Linked DNA regions of Homo sapiens: all the other regions are linked to region 3. The links are contacts of gene promoters, found by promoter capture Hi-C in human tissues and cell types (Jung and others, 2019). All regions are on one chromosome and are shown on one strand. Each heading gives the region's core, a stretch centred on a gene start or on the middle of the fragment in contact. The rest is flanking DNA. Distances are from core to core; before and after follow the strand shown. Region 1 has its middle 13 kb from the start of NRN1. Region 2 has its middle 46 kb from the start of NRN1. Region 3 holds the start of F13A1 (coagulation factor XIII A chain). Region 4 overlaps LY86 (lymphocyte antigen 86).

What was found. Contacts are between HindIII fragments. The study calls those that stand out against the background at their distance.
Region 1: a contact is called between a fragment that was not itself captured here and the fragment with the promoter of F13A1 in region 3, in 2 of the 25 tissues and cell types used here (dorsolateral prefrontal cortex and spleen).
Region 2: a fragment that was not itself captured here is called in contact with the fragment with the promoter of F13A1 in region 3 in 1 of the 25 tissues and cell types used here (fat).
Region 4: a contact is called between a fragment that was not itself captured here and the fragment with the promoter of F13A1 in region 3, in 1 of the 25 tissues and cell types used here (dorsolateral prefrontal cortex).

The regions. Positions count from the first base shown.
Region 1 is chr6:6,018,505-6,021,553 of GRCh38, reverse strand. No RefSeq gene overlaps it. Among named protein-coding and RNA genes, the nearest start is that of NRN1, 13 kb to the right of the region's middle. The HindIII fragment of the contact is 3,261 bases long and covers 66-3,049 here.
Region 2 is chr6:5,959,911-5,962,852 of GRCh38, reverse strand. No RefSeq gene overlaps it. Among named protein-coding and RNA genes, the nearest start is that of NRN1, 46 kb to the left of the region's middle. The HindIII fragment of the contact is 6,226 bases long and covers 1-2,942 here.
Region 3 is chr6:6,319,408-6,322,255 of GRCh38, reverse strand. F13A1 (coagulation factor XIII A chain) reads left to right here and starts at 1,594. Exons shown (of 15, transcript NM_000129.4): 1 at 1,594-1,669. All of the region lies in intron 1 of LOC124901253 (a long non-coding RNA gene), which reads right to left. The HindIII fragment of the contact is 8,313 bases long and covers 1-2,848 here.
Region 4 is chr6:6,614,485-6,617,415 of GRCh38, reverse strand. All of the region lies in intron 1 of LY86 (lymphocyte antigen 86), which reads right to left. All of the region lies in intron 1 of LY86-AS1 (LY86 antisense RNA 1), which reads left to right. Among named protein-coding and RNA genes, the nearest start is that of LY86-AS1, 6.9 kb to the left of the region's middle. The HindIII fragment of the contact is 4,694 bases long and covers 1-2,931 here.

The DNA of each region.
Region 1 (3,049 bases), core at 447-2,946, 300 kb after region 3:
TGTGTATCAGGGGTGTGGGGTGCTGGTCACCTCTCCCTTTGCCCAAGGTTTTGAAAAGCAGAGGACACACGTGCACAATACACTGAATAGGAGACAAAGAAGAGCTTCATCAATCCAGACAAATACTCAGCACCTCATAGTAAACTGCTAATAAAACCTGGATTAGGAAGAGGGGTGGCTTAAGCCTGAAGTCTAAGTGTGTCTCCCTCTTCACACTCCAAATACATCTTGGGGTTAACATACTGCAACCACCTGTCTCTAGAGAAAGACAGAGAGAGATGAGCAGATTGCAGAGTGGGTTCCAAGTTCATGTACACAGCAAGTTTTCCACAGGTCCAATATAGGCCAACCTCAGGAGGCGCCTGGAAACACAAAGAAGACCATCACCCAGCCTAAGAACTCACCAGTTGCATAGTGACCTGACCCGCTTGGGAGAAGTGACTTGAAAATACCAAGCTCCGAGGAACCAGCAGGGAATTGAGCAGCTGAGAGACCAAAAGTGTTGCAACAATGTTCGCCTGAGTGAGGAGACCACGGTGGTCTAAAAATTGAAGGCTGAGGGTAGAGAGAAGGCTTACTGTCTTCTCAGTTCCATGTACAATACATGCCACCTACCATCAGCTCTTTCAATACAACATCACACTTTCTCAACAACCCCCATTCGGTAATATCTTTATGCCCTCTTTAGAGGTAAGGAACCTAATGCCTAGAGACAGTATATAATTGGACCATGTTTCATAGCCAATAAATTTAGGGAGGAAGCCAAAACTCAATCCCACATTGGGCTGTCTGACTCCAAGCTGTGACCCACAGTGTGATCATTTCCATTTTGTGTTAATGAATGATTCATAATGATCAGGAATTCATTGATTGTGATCGGTGTGGTTGAATTTCCTGTCATTTTCAGGGCTAGACAGATTAACTTCCAAAAGTTTATTACCAGGAGCCTCTGGAAAGAAAGGAAATTTATCCAAAAAGTTTTTGTAAAGATTTTACTCAACCCAGCCTCACACCAGGGACAGGGCTAGAGCCAGAACGCCCTTGTGGTGGCTGCCTCAATGCAAGCCAAGCTTTCTTTCCAGCTTCACAAAATAATTGTTGGCATTTGTGGCCAGGCTAATCTCAGAATAAGGGTTATCTCAGTGTTTCAGCAGCATAGGGTCTAAAATGGCATTTTTCAGAATTATAGTTGGGAAATACACACACACACACACACACACACACACGCACACACACATATAATATATAAAAGGATATAATTCAAAAGGATGAATCAGTTGAACCTATTTTTTAAAAATTCACAGAAAACCTTAAGAGCAGGAAAGATGACACCAAACAGGCTCTGTCAGGAGAATTGGTTGCTCTTTCCTTTGTGTGGCCATGGGGTCTTGATGGGCAGGTGAAGCTTTCAGTCTCTAATGACAAATAGCCACTTTGTAAATGCCACTTTTAAACCTTCTAGGTGTAAAATAAAATGATCAAGTCAAACCATCTTCCATTGAAGCAAAGAAAGAAGAGTTTCCAAATTTAATAAATTTCCTGAAAACTGATAATTAGGTCATTCAGCAGGTAAAATAACTAGAAAAGGTGAATGTGGGAACCTTCAGGCTCTCATCTCTACAAATGAGAGGGCTGCCTGCAAGGTAGGGGCTCAGCAACCTGCAATGAGATGATGGGAAATGCTGAGCCACAGTCATCTAAAGGTTGAGAATAAGCATCATCGTGTAGTACACTTGCATTGGGTGAGAGTTTTGCAGGGTTTCAAGGTTTTTTAAGGAACACTGTTCTCATCTGGCATGGGCAAGGGATATCCTTCTGCTGGCCTGGGGAGTTCAGGGTAATCTTATGGTAAATATTATTGGGCTCATCCACCCAAATGTCTTTATCTCAGATGTTAGGGTACTACTCTTAGGCTACTACTAACCTAACTTGGACATAAGAGACTGATCAAGTCTATGCATTCATTCTGCTAGCTGTGGTTCCTTAAAATTAAATTATGGGCCTCATTTTTAGCACAATCTGAAAGAAAACTCCTGAATAGAAGGGTATTTTTAAGTCTTAAACTATCCAGTATGGTAGCCACTAGCCACCATGTGTCTAATGAAGTCTTGAAATGTGGCTATTCCAAACTGCCATATGCCGGAAGTGTAAAATACATACTGGTCTTGAAAACTTAGTACCAAAAAGGTAACAGGACTTATTAATAAGTCTTTATATTTATTACATATCGAAATAATAGTTTTGATATATTGGGTTAAATCAAATACATTATTGGAATTAATCTCACCTGTATCTTTTTTACTTTTCACTTTATGGCTACTAGAAAATGTAAAATTACATATATGGTTCGTATTCTATTTCCATGGGGGCAGAACTGCTTTAAATGCTTCATGGGGGCTTCCAGGCTTTCCAAGTGTGCCTAGAGAGCAGAGTCGGCTATGCTGAGGTTGTTTTCCTTTCTCAAGGATTCTGAAGCTGTACAAAGTCAGTCAATTCCAATTTGCATCTGTCAAAACACATAGAACTTTATAGCACCAAGAATGAACCTTAATGTATGCAAATTTTTAAAAATCATTTAGGAGGTCAAAGAATCCCAAGACAGAATGCAGAATATGACAAAAGAGTCTAATTATCTTACAAGTGTACGAAACAACCTCACTGAAGGGGGTGAGGGGAAAAGGTGCTGACCGAAGTGACTTTGAACTAAGTGGAGTCTATAAGACTAAAGGCAAGAGGAACTGCACGGAAGCACTTTACTCAGCCAAAAAGTTGTTTCCCATAGTGGAACAGGTTAATGATTCTGAAATCACTATACACATGTACTGTAACTGAACAATTAAGTAAATGGCTGGCAGGTGGCAGGAGCCAGATTTCCCACTATTGGAGTGGGAGGTTACACAGCAGTGAGGCAAGGGGAGGAGACTAGAATGTGTGTGATGGGTTAGAGTTGGAGACATCCATATGAACTCTTGTTTAACTTAATACAGATATAGACGGTTACATAGCAAGCTACTGATGGAAATGTGTATATACACATATATATTTAACG
Region 2 (2,942 bases), core at 105-2,604, 360 kb after region 3:
AGGCCCTGGAATGAAACACAAGGAACAGAGATGCTGCAACTGACTCAGAGGCCCACAGGCACATGGGTGATATTATGCTTAATTGTTTTCTACAGAGAGTTGGCGGTTACTCGTTATGCAGCAAAGTCATAGCAATAGCTGCCTGATACATGTTGCGTATGTCATATCATAGACACTGTTCTTTATGGTGTAATTAAATAATTTTCGGGGATCACTTTGACCACATTCAGTTTTTACAATCCATGCACTAGCTTTAGTCTCAAATTCACAAATGAAATGAGATCCCACCCTGCCTTCAATGACAACTTTGTTTAGTCTTGTTTCATAAGTAAAATTTGTGATAATTTGTTGCAGCTGATATTCTAGCTGGTTTTTATATTATTTAGGTAATGAATGATAGGCCTAGAATGTATGTGGACAAAAAGATCTATAGTTTCAAGTCCATAGAAATTACTTTTCTGGTTATCAGCATCTGAAACCTGTACTTTTAGATAATTTTACAATTGTTTTCAACTTCCATTTTTCATCTCTAGTTAAATTTACACAGCATAGAAGTGTCTTTAAGAATGAACAAACTTTAAAAAAAGCCATGAACGAACTGAGAAATATACATGATCATTCATTTGGCACCATCTTCTAAAATTTCACACTTCAAGGATAAGCAAAATTAGTATAATTCACTTCTTAAATTGCTTGCTTACTAACATTGTAAGTGAGGCAGTGCAAGAGGAAGGAGACTATAGCTTTCAACAGATGTGACAAGGCAACCCTCCCAAGGGTTTTAGAGAATGGAGTGATGCTGACAGATGGCAAACCTACTGACCCCAGCCCTGATGGCTCCTCAGTGGGGGGCCTGAACTGTCTGACCCATGGTGTCCCCTTTGCATACTACACCCAGACGGCAGGTGGTCATGGAAAATATTTCAGCGACCAAATTTTTCCACTTGCTTTTTGCTGCCCAAGTTGAATGTCAATGGTAAGCTATCCTGTTCAATAGTTATTTCAGATAAATAGTTCTTTAACATAAAGCTCTCTTCTTTCTATGGGGGAAGAGATCGGGTTGTATCATTGTTGTTATGGTTACACACTCCTTCTTTGAGTTCAGATAGTGCCTCTTAGTAGCCAAGAGAACTCTGTTTATGTGAGCCTGATCCTACACTCAGTCTGAGGGAGTGAAGTGAGAAATGTCCCAGCCAGTTTCTTTTGGTTTCTTATTGTCCGGGTCAAGGGAGGAACACGAGGCCCCTGTGATGGGGCTCCCACAGGTACCCTTGCGTCGCTTGGCTCCATTTGATCCCGCTTGTCCTTGCTCCCATGGTCTCTCCAGGTCTTGCATGATGCAGTATCGTGTGGCTAAAAGCACATTAAAGCTTGTGTCTGAGTCCCTGCCTCAACACTCATTAGTTGAGGAAACATGGGCAAGGGACTGGACTAATTTAGACTGGATCATCTCATCTTCAAAATAGAAGCAATAATAGCACCTACTCGGCAGGGCACGGTGGCTCACGCCTGTAATCCCAGAGCGAGATCATGCCACTGCACTCCAGCCTGGGCAACGAGTAAAACTCCGTCAAAAAAAAAAAAAAAAAACAGCACCTACTCTATAAGATTATAGTGATAATTAAATGAGATAATCCTATAAATAGCCTAGCACAGATCCTGATACGTATGTTCTCAGTTAATTTCAGCCACTGCAATGTGCTGGTAATTACTCTTATGAAGGGAAGATGCCACAGAGTGTAGGTGTAGGTGTAGGGGGTTCCTAGGTGTAGGGAGCTTTGGGTAGAGTAACTGCAAAGTAGACAGTTCCTCTTCCACCATCTCGCCCTTAAGGTCAGCCCCCAGAGGATCCAGATAAGACGGCAGGGTACTGAAGGATGTGGTGTCTTAAGTCCTGATCCTTCACAAGGCTCTGAGGCCCTTCTCACACCTGCCAGGCCTAGCAGAGTGGCCCACCAGTGTGGTGGCACAGAGCTGGCTGAGAATTGACTCCTGGAGGAGCAGGATGGTGAGGCCAAAAACATACCCAGCTTCTAGGGGCCGATTTTGACATCTTATTTCAGATCTGCTGAAGCTGCCCCAAGCTCCCCCAGGCTGCTGTCTTTCGTGGTTTGACATACACGTCTGTCATTGGGTACATGCCATTTGGGGCCACAGAGTGACAGGCAGGGCCATGTCACCATGAGCCACACAGCAACACCATCTCTGGAGCCACCACATGGAACAGCATGAGCATGACATGCCTCTCGTTTCTGGGATGTGTCCAGCCCTTGCCCCCGTCCTGTTGGGGTTTGGAAGAGATGCATCTGCTCCTCTACTCTGCCCCAAAATGCACTGCTTCAAGAACAAAACAGCACTGGAAGGACTTGAGCTCATGTGGTTCATGGGCAGATTTCTTACAGCTCAGTCTGGGGAATCTCACCGTGGGAGCCCTGCTCGACCTAGGGCAGGTTGGCTCCTGGCTTCCCTGTGCCTTAGCTTCACTTTCTCAAGCTGACTGTAAGTTGTATTCACTCACCTTTTCATTCCAGGTGGAGGAGCTAGATATTGTGATAAGCGCCAAGGCACACAGCCTGCGCTGAAGGAACTGACAGTCAGTCAGAGGGGCCCCCAGGGTCGGCGAGCTGCAACGTCCTGTGGTACATATTATGATACAGCTATGGAGTGGAAAGGTGGAGAAAGGATAAGGAGGGACCTAGATCTTCCTAATGGAACTAGGGGTGGGGGCCATCAAGGAAGGATTATCCAGGAACTGACAAGTGAGAAGGTTCTAGAAGGAATTCCCCAGGGGGAGAAAAAAACAAGCCAGGTGTAAATAGGAGAAGGGATGTTTCAGCCTGAGAGAAGAGCACAAGAAAGCCAGGGACACCAGAAGCCGGGCAGGACACAGACCCCGGGAGATTCTTCAGTGTGGCTAGGATGTAGGGTGTGAAGAAGGAATG
Region 3 (2,848 bases), core at 345-2,844:
CAAGGAGGCCTAGGAAAAATACCTTCAAAGACAGAGTTCAATGCTTCCAAAAGGTCAGGTAAATAAGAACTGAATCCTGTCTTTTGGCCTGAGCACAGGCCTTGGAGACCGTGACCTCCACTTTCAGTAGAATGATGAGGCGGAAGCCAGATGGCAGATACTTAGTGATGAAGGGGAGGAGAGGAGGAGTAACAGCAGGAGTGGGGACATAGGTTGGGGGAGGTTTTTAAAAAAATACTGAAGAGACCTGAAATTGCATGAATGCTGAGAAGACCCACTATTAGCAAGCAGGAGCTTGAAGCTGCAAGAGGAAGAGTACGTAAGAGTCACAGCAAAGCCCCGGAGAACAAGGCAACGCAGAAGCCTGGTTTGGAGATGCAGAGGGAGGAGGGACCTTTCCAACTTCAGTAACAAGAAGAAAGAGGAAAAGATAGATAAGGTTGCAGGCAGGTTCATAGATTGGTAGCAGAAAATTGAGAGAATTTCTAACCAATGGCATCTTTTTTTTTCTTCTTTATAACATTGGGAGATTGAGTGGCAGGGTCAGAAATTTGAAGACAGTAAAGAAGGTTAGAAATAGCCATGTTTGACTGGGTGCGGTGGCTCACGCCTGTAATCCCAACACTTTGGGAAGCCAAGGAGGGTGGATCACCTGAGGTCAGAAGTTCGAGACCAGCCTGGCCAACATGGTAAAGCCCCATCTCTACTAAAAATACAAAAATTAGGCGGGCATGGTGGCATGCACCTGTAGTTCCAGCTACTTGGGAGGCTGAGGCAGAAGAATCACTTGAACCCGGGAGGTGGAGGTTGCACTCCAGCCTTTGCAACAGAGCAAGACTTCATCTGAAAGATAGAAAGATGAAAGAAAGAAAGAAAGAAAGAGTAAAAGAAAAAAATTAAAATTTTAGGGGGAAAATTTTCTAATTTTTGAACATGCACTAAAATGATTTTCAGAGAAAACCAAGTGTTATTTTCTAATCTGCATGGCATTATTAAAGATGTTTACTCATCTTCCTTGGGGCTAGGCATCCCATTCCTGCAGGAAGTCTTGTGGTTAGGCGGTGGCTGTGGCTCTGGGATGATTCAGGAATGCAGACCATGCCTTATTTGCACAGGAGGGACACGTTGCTCTCACTGCATGCATGGTCACAACTGTCTGTGTGACCTGTCTGTGGGAGGGCAGACCCCCCTCCTGCCAAGCCACAGTAGCAGCTGACCTGCCAGGCAAAAGCATTCCTTTGTAAAGGAAACCCTCCCAGACCCTCTGACCAAAGGGGACGGGTGGGGACTTCCTGGCACTGCAGGGCCCCTTGCCTGGTACTCCCAGCAACTGGTTGCGGTGGGGAGGGCAGATCTAGGGATGGGGATGGGGAGGAGAAGTGGGAATGGGAAATTGGGAGTCAGAGGGGCAAGTGGGAGAGAAGGGCGCACCTGCCGGGATAACAGGCCAGATGAAGTAAATAGAAAATCCTCTGAGCTCCCCTACTGGCTCCAGCTGTGGAGAAGGGGGAGGAGAAAACCCTGTGGGACAGGGGAGGAGGGTGAGGGCTCCTCTTAGGAAGTTATTTAAGAGCCAACTGTCTTGTCTTTCCCGAGTCCGTTTGAGGAAGTCCCCGAGGCGCACAGAGCAAGCCCACGCGAGGGCACCTCTGGAGGGGAGCGCCTGCAGGTAAGCCACCGACCCTGCACCCTATGAGCCAGGGCCCGCTGCGTCCACCTTCTGCACCTCGGTTTCCTGGTTGAACCAGCAAGCGGCTTGCTCTGGGCCCTGTGGCGCCGGTCACAGGCAGCTCCACTTGCCCAATCCTGGCTTCCCGCCCCCAACTCCGCACCTGCCCAGCCCAGCTTCTAAGCGGGACTTCTCTCAGGCTCTCGAGGCAGCTCTCCCGAAGCCGTTGCTTGCTTAGAATGCCACCAAATGGGGATGGGGGAGTTGGAGGTGCTTCCCCAAGGGACGAGCCCCCTTTCCTCAGGGAGCAGATTATGGAGCTGGAACACAAAAGGTGGAGGGAGTGGGGCCAAGTGAGAACAGCCTGCTAGACTGGAACCCCGCCGGCTTGGCTCCCCACTCCTGCGCGCCTCCCCACTCCTGCGCATCGCCTGCCTCCGTCCCAATTTGGAGCTGAACTCGAGCCACTTCTCCTCCTTAGACCCGCCCAGAAGCGAGGGCTCCTGCCCGCCGCACTCACCCAGCCAGGCGTGCACCTGGGGCTCCCCCCTTCTCCCCCTTAGCACTGTGTCTCCCGACAGCGCGCCACACTGTTCTGCACCCCTGGCAATGCCGCAGCCTACCTTCGGTATTTCTCACTAGAGGATGGCTCTCGCAGCCTTCTCCCTATCATTAACCCTTTTTCGCTCTTCTCCCTCCCTTCCCCCGTCAGCTCACCAATGACTGTAAATATATTTATCTATACTTATGGATACCCATTCACACCTTATGCATCCAAACACTCCTGTCTCCTTCTCAGACCAGACACCTTAGGCGTGGTTGTCTTTTCTCCAGCATGTTGTTAGTGCTCCACATGTCTCTGGAACCATCTCTCTACTCTGGTGGCCTCTATAATGGGGACTCTTCACCTCTTGGGGGTGTGCCTGGTTTTTGAAAATAGCCAAGTCTCCAGGAGTCATGACTGGGTAATCCAGGGGATCAAGGGGGAACCTTCACTGGGCCCAGAAACAAAGTCCCCCTTCATTTGGTCATTTGGTCAACAAGTACTTACTGGGCACTGACCGTCAGGTGTGTGTTGTTTAAACTGGCTCAGTGCCTGCACAAGCTCCAAGGGAAGGGGAAGCAGGCTTGGGGAATGGGAAATGTTGGCAACCCTGACTTCTTAAGCCTATTGATAGC
Region 4 (2,931 bases), core at 147-2,646, 300 kb before region 3:
GACAAGGCATGTTTCCCACGGATTCACTTTATACTACCTTGCCTGCCCCTCTTCATTTTAAACACCATCTTAATAACAGTGTCACTCTTCTTTCTTACAATATGTTTCTTAACTGTCTAATATGCGCTGGACACTGTGCTAGCCGTGGTGGAACTGAGGTGGAAAAGGAGCATTTTGACCAGGCCAGTTCACCCAGAGCCCTACTATTGGTTAAGTAGCGACCAGATTACTAGGGCTTCCTCAAGTCTAGAAGCATCAGGGGAACTTGCCTCTTTGGCTTGGTGTTGGTAATTGTTCAACTTTCTGTTACTAATTTGGAGTCAGTCCATGTGGGATAGAAAAGTGGATAAATGCTAGTCTGCTCTCTTTTTACAATGGAAGATTGGACGTTAGCACATGCTTCTCCGCTGCCAATGTGGATTTCACCACTCCTTCTAAGGGAGAGCCTGGCTTAGGGACAGCGGGAACCATGACACTGGTGACACTCACACAACCAGGATACACCTGTTGTATTTCATGTCTGCGGTTCTTACGCATTTGTCTGTCTCTTGACAGGGGACAGAAACAGGGCCAGATGCACAGGGTGGTTTACGTGACTGCACAGCTGCAAAGATGATCTCTGGGACTTTTCTTGACATGCCGCAAATGCTGAAAAGGAATTCCCTTCTGCTTCTAGAAGTCATGAACTAGATATGATTTAAAAGAAAAAGCTAAGGTGTTTGTTGTCCTTGGCATCTGATGTTGTGGAATATGATGGATGGGTGAGCAGGAACTGACAAACTGGCTGGGAGGTAACAGCTGAGGCCAGCCTGGTCTGCTCATTGATGGTGCTGGATTTGAACCAAACGTACCAGGAGGTCCTCAAATGCAATTTGAATTGTTGATTCTCTCATTAGTCTTGAGAGTGGCCAGGGCATGGGGTGTTAGTAACATCCCTGTTTGCTAAGGAAGAGACTGAGATTTCAGGCAGGGAAGTGACTTCCTCACATCTCCAGACTCAGCCTCCAGGGCCCTCAGCACTGCACCCTGGTTGCTGTGCGGGTCTCACCCTGCAGTACATGAGCGAGGCAGACAGAAGACAGAAGCAGAGCTTTAGATGGAGGCGAAACGAGTCCAGATATGTGTGCCGGAACCTGGTCCTCCTAGGATTCAAGTTGCTTACAGAGAGGGACAAGACCCAACAAGCTTCCCAATTTTGATAAAATTCTTCACTGAGATTGTGCAGGTCACTGTCACTCTGCGAAGGTGCTGCTTTTCTCAACCCAAAGGAAACTGGGATAGAGGAAAATGCACTGAAGTGTTTTATTAGGAATTAAGAAAAATAATGCATATAAAGCATCTTGGCCAGTGCTAGGCACATAATAGATAGTTAATAATTGGGCAAAAGGAGGATGGAGTCTATTAGAAAGAAGATATTACAATATTGACTATTCTCATTACAGTTGCAGAAAATGAAACCAACTTCTTTTTAACATTTTTCTTTTTAATGTAAGAACACCCTAGGTTTAAAATAATTTAGTTAAGTTCATACATCTTTTTTGTATTATTATTTTTTGAGATAGGGTCTGGTTCTGCTGCCCAGGCTGGTATCAAACTCCTGGATTCAAGCGATCCTCCTACCTCAGCCTCCCAAACTGCTAGGACTACAGATGTGGTCCACTGTGCCTGTGCCCAGCTTTTTTTTTTTTTTTTTTTTGAGACAACATCTCACTGTCACCCAGGCTGGAGTGCAATGGCACAATCTTGGCTCACTGCAACCTCCACCTCCCAGGCTCAAGGGATTCTCATGCCTCAGCCTCTCCAGTAGCTGGCATTACAGGTGTGTGCCACCACCATGGGCTAATTTTTGTATTTTTAGTAGAGATGGGGTTTCACCATGTTGGCCAGGCTGGTCTTGAACTCCTGACCTCAAGTGATCCACCCGTTTCGGCCTCCCAAAGTGCTGGGATTACAGGCGTGAGCCACCGCAGCCTGCCTTCAGCCAAGCTTTAAGTTAAATAGATATTTCTGAGATGAAACCTAGATGTCAGTTGGGGCCTCCCAGCCCTTGAGATTAAACAGGATTGGTGGAACATAACCTCATGGTTGGGATGCTCTTTGCTGATGGTTCTTAATGTGGCTGCACGTTGAAATCAATAGGAGAGTGCTGTGAAAATACCCATGCCTGAGTTCCACCCCAGACAGTCTGATTTAATAAGTCTGGGTGCTGCCTGGTTTTCAAATGCTCCCCAGGTGATTCTCTTGCCTTGCCTAGTTTGAAACCCAATGTTAAAAGCCACACCAAGTTTTTTTTGCTCATTTCCTGATATATGATCTTAAACGTGAGATCCTACGTCTACCGTGTATCACTCGGCTCAAAGTTTAACCCCTTCATAGATGTCCTAAGAAATCTCCTTACAAACCATTTCACAAGGTGTACAGAATTTATGAAGCGTTAAGAGGCAGCCGCCTCCGCTTAGCCCTTTATGAGCCGGTGAGATGCTCCCGGCCTCTCCCTCTTTTTTCATGTCTCTGGCTCCTGTCTCTACAGGACACCATGTTTCCCCTGCCTCAGTCCTGAGGAGTTGGAACCTTGGCAGTTACCCAAGCGACTCTCAAGAATTCTTTCAAGAAAGGCACGGCCCTGCTTAGGTAGGATTCTTGCAACAGCCCCTAAAAGCATTTTTTTTTTCTGTTTCATTTCCTGAGCATCGACTCTCTGCCAAGCACGATCTTAGGCATGAAAAGATTTGAGATGAGAGTTCAGGGACAAAGAGAACAAAGCTGAAGAGATGAGCAAGGAGAGCTAGCGGAGGATGGGGAGCATGAGACAGGACACGCCTGCAAAAAACTCCCAATGTGGAGAAGAACGTGGAAGAACAGCAGAGCTGGGCAGATGTGAGTGGGCGGCGTGGGGCTGGGAGAGCCAAGACCAGAGAGCCTGGTATGCGC